Regions from separate parts of the Homo sapiens genome. Here region 2 is linked to region 1. Evidence: promoter capture Hi-C in human tissues and cell types (Jung and others, 2019). All regions are on one chromosome and are shown on one strand. The core of a region is centred on a gene start or on the middle of the fragment in contact, and the rest is flanking DNA. Distances in the headings are between cores, read along the strand shown. Region 1 holds the start of OC90 (otoconin 90). Region 2 overlaps KCNQ3 (potassium voltage-gated channel subfamily Q member 3).

What was found. Contacts are between HindIII fragments. The study calls those that stand out against the background at their distance.
Region 2: a contact is called between a fragment that was not itself captured here and the fragment with the promoter of OC90 in region 1, in 2 of the 25 tissues and cell types used here (H1 embryonic stem cells and hippocampus).

Annotation. Positions count from the first base shown.
Region 1 is chr8:132,057,396-132,060,891 of GRCh38, reverse strand. It overlaps OC90 (otoconin 90), which reads left to right and starts at 1,510. Exons shown (of 14, transcript NM_001080399.3): 1 at 1,510-1,551. RefSeq lists enhancers at 1,863-2,439, 2,440-3,017. The HindIII fragment of the contact is 9,699 bases long and covers 1-3,496 here.
Region 2 is chr8:132,125,290-132,128,785 of GRCh38, reverse strand. KCNQ3 (potassium voltage-gated channel subfamily Q member 3) reads left to right here. Exons shown (of 15, transcript NM_004519.4): 15 at 1-3,496. Among named protein-coding and RNA genes, the nearest start is that of HHLA1, 16 kb to the right of the region's middle. The HindIII fragment of the contact is 6,054 bases long and covers 1-3,496 here.

The DNA of each region.
Region 1 (3,496 bases), core at 261-2,760:
CAACTCCTACAAAAAAAGAATAATTTGGCCCAAATGTCAACAGTGCTAAGATTAAGATACTCTGTTGTAAGCTATGGGAAAAAATGATCCTTCTCAAAACCCCATGAAATGTCTCGAACAAGATACCTATGTAGATTGTTATGCCTTTGTATTGCTCAGGCATAATAACAATCTCAGTTATGCTCTTGAGCATAATAACAATCTCAGCTATGCTCTTGAGATGCTGAAAAGATGGATTTTGCTGCACTGAGCCATAGATGCCCACGGGCTTAGTCATTTTAGAGATGGTGGGTCTTTGGTGCTAATGAGAAAATATTACAGACAATGCATCTTCATTCCTCAAATCACATGAGATGCTGAACAATAGTTAATGATCTACAAACACAAGCCTCAATGAATGAGAGTAATTACTTATTTGAAGAAGCCCTTCAATGGGTTCTTCCATAGAGGCTCAATTGTGCCCTGATTTAATCGTTTGAGGAGTCCTGCTTCTTCAGGAGGTGGCCATAGAGTGAGCAACTCAGAGGGTTCACAGCCAGGCTAACCTGCATTCCAGAATGCTTCCATTACACGTGAGCTTCTACAATGCCTCAACCTCAACGACACCATTTTTTCTCATCTGTAAAGTGGAGCTAATTAATCCTTGCTCCTAGGATTATGAAAGCAGTAATGGAAGGGCTGCTGCAGGGATGATGAGGGCAAAATCCTATAAAACACTTGTGGTACATTACACGTACTCAATAAATGCCAGTTCTCCTTTCAAAATCAGGAAAGAAAACCCTTCACAAGGCGATATGAGGAAGTGACAAAAAGAACTAGGACTTAATGAGCCCCCATACCACACACTATATATGGCTTTCTTCAGCCTCGAAATCTTAGTAGGATTAAGCCCATTTAACAGATGTGGAAGCTAAAGCTGAGCAGTGACAAACTCAAGGTCACACTGCTACTCAGTAGCAGGGCTGGCAGAGGAACCTTGGGTGTCTGATTATAAAGCCCCACCTCACCCTACCCCACAGCTTGGGCAGAAAAGCCCTAAAGGAAAGAGGCATCAAATTCCGAGATCTGAGGCCAAGAACATATAAGAAGAATCACGCTAGAAATCCTCTTGCTAAAGAATGAACTAGACCAGACAAAGCCAGCCCTTTATCTTGCAGGAGAGCCCACATGACTTTCATCAGTCTTTCATCCCCCGAGAGTTCCCATGATGACCCTGAGACATAATCCATGGGCCTCCTAGCCTTTGAGGTGAGGTGGGGTAGAACAGGGAACCCATTGTTCTCTAATTAGAGCCTGAGGTCTCCTCTGAGGCTCAAGATGGGGCTTCTTAATATGGAGCCTTCACCTGTTCCAAGCTATAGTATTATGATGCCTCCTCCCTTCAGAGGCAGCCCACCTGCCAACATTCATGAAAGGCTTCCTTCTTGATGTGAGGAGTGGGGAGAGGCATCACATGGCTAAGGGTCTTTCCTTGGGGTATAAAGGACTCAGTCTGCACCTGTTCAAACCCTAGCATCATTCATCCAGCTGCACTCCAGTGGAGCCTTCACGGTAGGCATCTGTTATTCCTGATGGTTGGGGAGACAGAGAGCAGGGGAGGGAGGGAGGGAGGAAGACAGCAAGTAAAGGAGGGAAATGAATGGGAGAAGAGAAGAAGGGAGGGAGAAAGAGAAGGAGGGGGAGAGGGAGGGATGGAGGAAAAGAGTGAGGGAGGGAGGGAAATGGTTGGGAGATGGAAAGAGGCAGAAAGGGTAGGAGGAAGGAGGGGAGGGAAGAAAAGTAGGAGAAATTGATGAAGGAAGAAAAGGAGGGAGAAAGAGAGGGTAGAAGGGAGGGAGGGAGAGAGGGAAAGAGGGAGGAAGGGAGAGAAGAATGGAGGGGAAATGAGGAGATAAATGAATGGAGGATAAGGTGGTAGGGGATGCTCTCAGGGCTGTCTGAGACCTGGATGTTGCTCCAGGATATAGCTGAAAACCCAAATTGCTCTGAGTCGATCTGTGAAAAGATGCAATGCCAGACAGAGAGCACCTGGCAAATTTACCCGGGGGAAAAATCCACCACTTCACATTAGTGAGGATCCTACATAGCCCTGGGCAATGACCCCGCCCACGGCACCTGGTGTGGAAACACAATCAGCATTAATTATGGGCAGTCCTCACTGAGCACTGAGCAAGTGCCGGAGATGGTGTTCTACCTTTATAAGACTCATCAGATTTAACCCTCATGATTCCCTGATGAAAAAACACCATTATATGCATTTCGCTGCCCAGGAAAATGAGTTCCAGGCATCTTCAGTGCCTGGCTCAGGGCACTCGACAAGCAAAAGGCAGAGCCTGAACTCCCTGACCCCAGCCCAGGTCTGTCCGACCAGCAAGGCCTTGGGCTCAGACACTGGCTATGCAGCCATGAGACCGGCCATTGGGAGACAGCTAGGGGAGCCGGGACTCCAAACCTGGCATGCAGACCAAGGCGAGGCTTCGGGAGCCTTCTCAGGCCCACAAGGACAGCACTGACCCATGAGGCCACGACAGCCCCAGAGACTTCCTTGGGCAAATTAGGAGAAGGAGGTCTTTCCTCCAGGTAGACACAGCCCCACAGCCAAGGGCGCCTGACTTGGCCAACAGGAGGATACTGGATTTCAGAAGCAGCCCCACACCATCCCACCCACGTACCCTAATGTGCACGTACCCCAGATTCGGGTCATCCTCACTGTTGCCCAGGGCTGACCACGTGCTTCTAACTGGCACCTTCTAGCTGGCACTGACTTTCCTTCTTTGTGCGCAGCAAGGAAGCTGTCACCTGCTGTGTTTCACCACACCCTAGCAAGAAGCTGGCCACCCTAAGGGTCTTCCCAAGCAAGTACTACCGATAATTGTGACAGTTACGCAGTGAGTCATCACTGGAATGCTTAGTTTGTCTCAAAGGACCGGCCTAGCAGTTTAGGGTATTGGAGCCAGAACAAGTCAGACTGGCCCACCTGGGTCTGGTCATTGCCAGAGCGCCCCCTTCTGGGCAAGGGCCACCCTGGCAAGTGACTCACCCTCTGAGCCCAGTTTCCTGGTCTAGAAAGTGAGACGTCTTGATAGCCAAAGTCTTGGAGGGTTGTCACCAGACAGCAAGTGGGGCATGCTCAGTGGAACACCTGACACAAAGAATGACCTAATCCATGAAATGTTGTGTTTAAAGGAATAAGGTCATGAAGATTATTACTTACTTTTTAAAAAGTTGTGGTAAAATATACATAATATTGACCATGTCAGCCACTTTTAAGTGTACAGCTGAGGAGCATTAAGTGCATTCACATTGATATGCAATCACGCCACTGTCCACCTCCAGGACTTTTTCATCTTCCCCTACTGAAACTCTCCCCATTATCGAAGAACACCCAATCATACCTCCTTATAACTTATTGCAAAAATAAATTAGAGCATAGTCAAAATTATGTCTCTAATAAAGTCATTTTGGCTCATTTGCATTCAAGCAACATGTTTCAAGG
Region 2 (3,496 bases), core at 706-3,205, 67 kb before region 1:
CATTGTGTATCAGTGGGGCTGCCTACTGAGCTAACATTAGGAAAGGAATGAGATAGTCATTGTGTCTCTAAAACAAAGAATTTAAACAAATATTTAAGGCAAAACCTTTTAAAAGCTCTCCAAAAGACCTCACTTGGCCTGATGTTACTTAGTATCATGCCTCAGTTTCCTTATCTGTAAAAAGTGGTGGTAATCCCAAGTGTAGCATTTCTGATGAGTTATGAATTGGCAGGGAGAAAACACACACACACACACACACACACACACACACACACACATACACAAAGTTAAAATAGTTTCCAATTTATGTAGCCAAGGACAATGGAATTTATCAGAAGTGAAGTGCCCCTCTGGGCAGGAGCTGAGTTCAGTGCCTTTAAAATGAATTTCCAACTCTCATTTCTTCCCATGATACTGAAGTACAAAATATCCATCTAAAATAGAAATTAAAGTCAAGAAGGCACACAGAAATTTTCTAGTCCAAGGACTTCCTTTTATAAATGAAGAATCTTAGGCTCAGGTAAAGTGACATACCCAGAGTCACTCAGTTGTCCCATAGAGAACCAGGACTCAAAAGTCAGGTCTGCCCACTCTCCCTGACCTTGTTTCCCCTCACCACACCATTCTTCCATTTATATAATGCATCCTAGAGATTGTGTCAAGATATATGACTTTGTGTCGCGTGGAAAGCACCCAGTTTATCCAGCAGGAGGGGGATTTCCACTTTTATTGCAAAACATGCTTGCTTGATGCAATGCATTTCAGATCTAGAAAAAAATAATGCAAGCAAGCTACATTTACAGATGTGTAAACAGGCAAAATTTCCAGAACCGTCCAATTTTACTTTTCCAAATTTATGGAACCAACCCAGATTTTTTAAATGAAAATACTAAAACCATATGTAACCGTAAGACAAGCTAAAATGTAAGCAGACAGCCTGGGAAGCACTGCCCTACTGTACAGGTGTGATATTAAGCACAAGCCATCCTCTGGCCTCTTATGAGATGTTGTTATTCTCTGAAAAACTTTGATGGAAAAGGTTTCTGTTAGGCTTAGACTGAATTAGCTAAATGACCATGCCACAGTATTATTGTATCACTCTTCTCACACACCTAGGCACTGGTTGTGGATAGTTGCCATGGTGACAATCAAGATAATCCAGATGACCTAAACAAATGTCTGTATGCAGCTGACACTGCTATTCTCCCTCACAGTCTTGTCAAGAGCCACAGTAGCTATGGCAGACATTTGGTTGATGGTTTCATCATTTCCTAATACGAGAGTCTGGCACTATGTTGGAGAGAGGAATCACTTCCTCAGAGATAGGTTCCTTTCAACTCACATGTCAACAGTTACTGTACAAAAAGCTCAGAATACAGTAATGATTAGAGCTTGACCCCTGACTTTAGGAACTTAGAACCAAAGCCCAAAGTCCCAGGCCAAGGGCAGACATTGTGAGCAGCAGAAGGGTGTTTTTTATGGAGAGCCCCATAAATGGATGGGTGTAGACCTTGAAGTCTGAGATGGGAAATATACCAGAATGCTCAATGCATCAGACATGAAGCCCCACGGGCTTCCATTTGACATGCTGGCAATCTGAAGGACAAAGGGCATGGGTTATTTGGGCCTTTTCCCCACTCCTTCAATATGGCTGAAAGTGCCAGTGGGGATTACAACCTAAGAAACCCTATGCCCCTTCCTGAGGGCTTGATTATTGAATCCTGATCTTCCTGGAATCTTTCACTTGAGATGATCACCTGCCTAACATCCAACATGTTACTATGCTCTTCTTTATGTACATGAGTTACTGGAAACCAACAATAAAGGAGAGTGAGTCATACTCTCCACATATGCGCCAATTAATTTTTTAACTTACTTATTAGTATTCTTGAAGAACTTACTATCTTAAGTATTTTACCAATAGATGATGCATTTTCCAGCAACTCAATGGAGTTCTACCTTAAAGTATTTACCATTGATCCAAAATTGGAGGAACTACCTTAGATTCTTTTAATAACCTAGAAAGGATTGGAGCTTGTATTATTTCCTAAACCATAGGCAGGCAGTCTAGCTTCCCTGCTGGATCATAAGACCAGGACAGCAGAGATTGGGTTTGTATTGATCAGTAGTAGGGAAGTATTGATTGTCTAACATCTAGTAAGTTGTCTTTATCAGTATAGACATAGACAAAATACATGTTTTATGAATGAATAAATAATAAGAACCTTAAGAGCTGTTTTTTTCCCATTTAAGAAAACAAAAAGGAAAAGAGAAAAATGATCTTCTGGAATAACTCTGCTTTGATATTCTCCTTTTGTTCCCCAAAAAATATATTCCAGAAAGGCAAACCAAACCTGCTCAAGTTGCCTATGCACAGACAATCTCAACAATATGGCTCACAGTGAGCAAGCAGAAATTCAGGGTCTGGAATTGAATGTGAGTTATGGGAAGAAACAGTGTGTGCTTTCACAAAGATCCTTTTGTCAGACAAGGGAACAGCATGATAATCCAATGGAACTGGTTAACATGACCCAAGATGACATGACCACAGATATACTAGTCGTTCTGAAACTTGCCCAAGAAATTGCAATCGTTTCAGCAGAACTCCATGAAATATTGACAAATTAATTCCATCATCAAACTAGGAGTGATATTATCAGGTAAAACTATGATCTCATGTATGTATTTGGTCTTTCTGGGTCACAATGTGACATGAAAAATTTTAAAGGTCATATTTTAGCAAGATCAAAATGAATTAGATAAATCAACTTCACAAATGTTAAGCGAAACATGATCCTATTGAGCTGAGAAAGAAGTACTTGAGATCGTTTGAGTTTTGACTATCAAATGTCAGCACAAAAGCAAATATCAAAAGCTTAAGAAAAAAATTATTTCAGGAAAAGAAAAACACATCAAATTGAGAAAGTGTTGTTGAATAACTTTGTTTTTAGAACTGGAAATTTAGGCTTATTAGACATGACATTGATATTACAAAGCCCTAGTTTTCATGAAAACATAACTAGATAACCCCAAGGTGTATAGGTTAAAATGAACTAATTAATCAACAATTATGCATCCTGTGTCTATTTTGTGCAAGGTACTTCCTAGACACTGTAGTTTGAAAGAATAATTTCCTGTAGAAAAACCTAATCTAATAGGACCTACTCATAATTTGGCAAAATCATCCTCATAATTCCATGCTACTGAAATGGGGGTGTAATAAAGAAAAAATCATTTGTTTATTCATTTAACAGGGTTTATTAAGCACCAATATATGCCCAGAACTTTGCAGTGCACTGGAAGTTCAGAGATAAGAAAACCACAGTTTCTGCCATCAAAATGCTAGGAATCTAGAGGTCTCAAACATCAGAGGTCCCTTCAAACTATGTCTACCAGGAAAATAAAATACCTGATTTCATCCCTGCAAACAACTCTATACAGACAGAAATGCTTCCTAGCTTGGAAACTATAGAAAATTGAACATGAAAATGAGAGC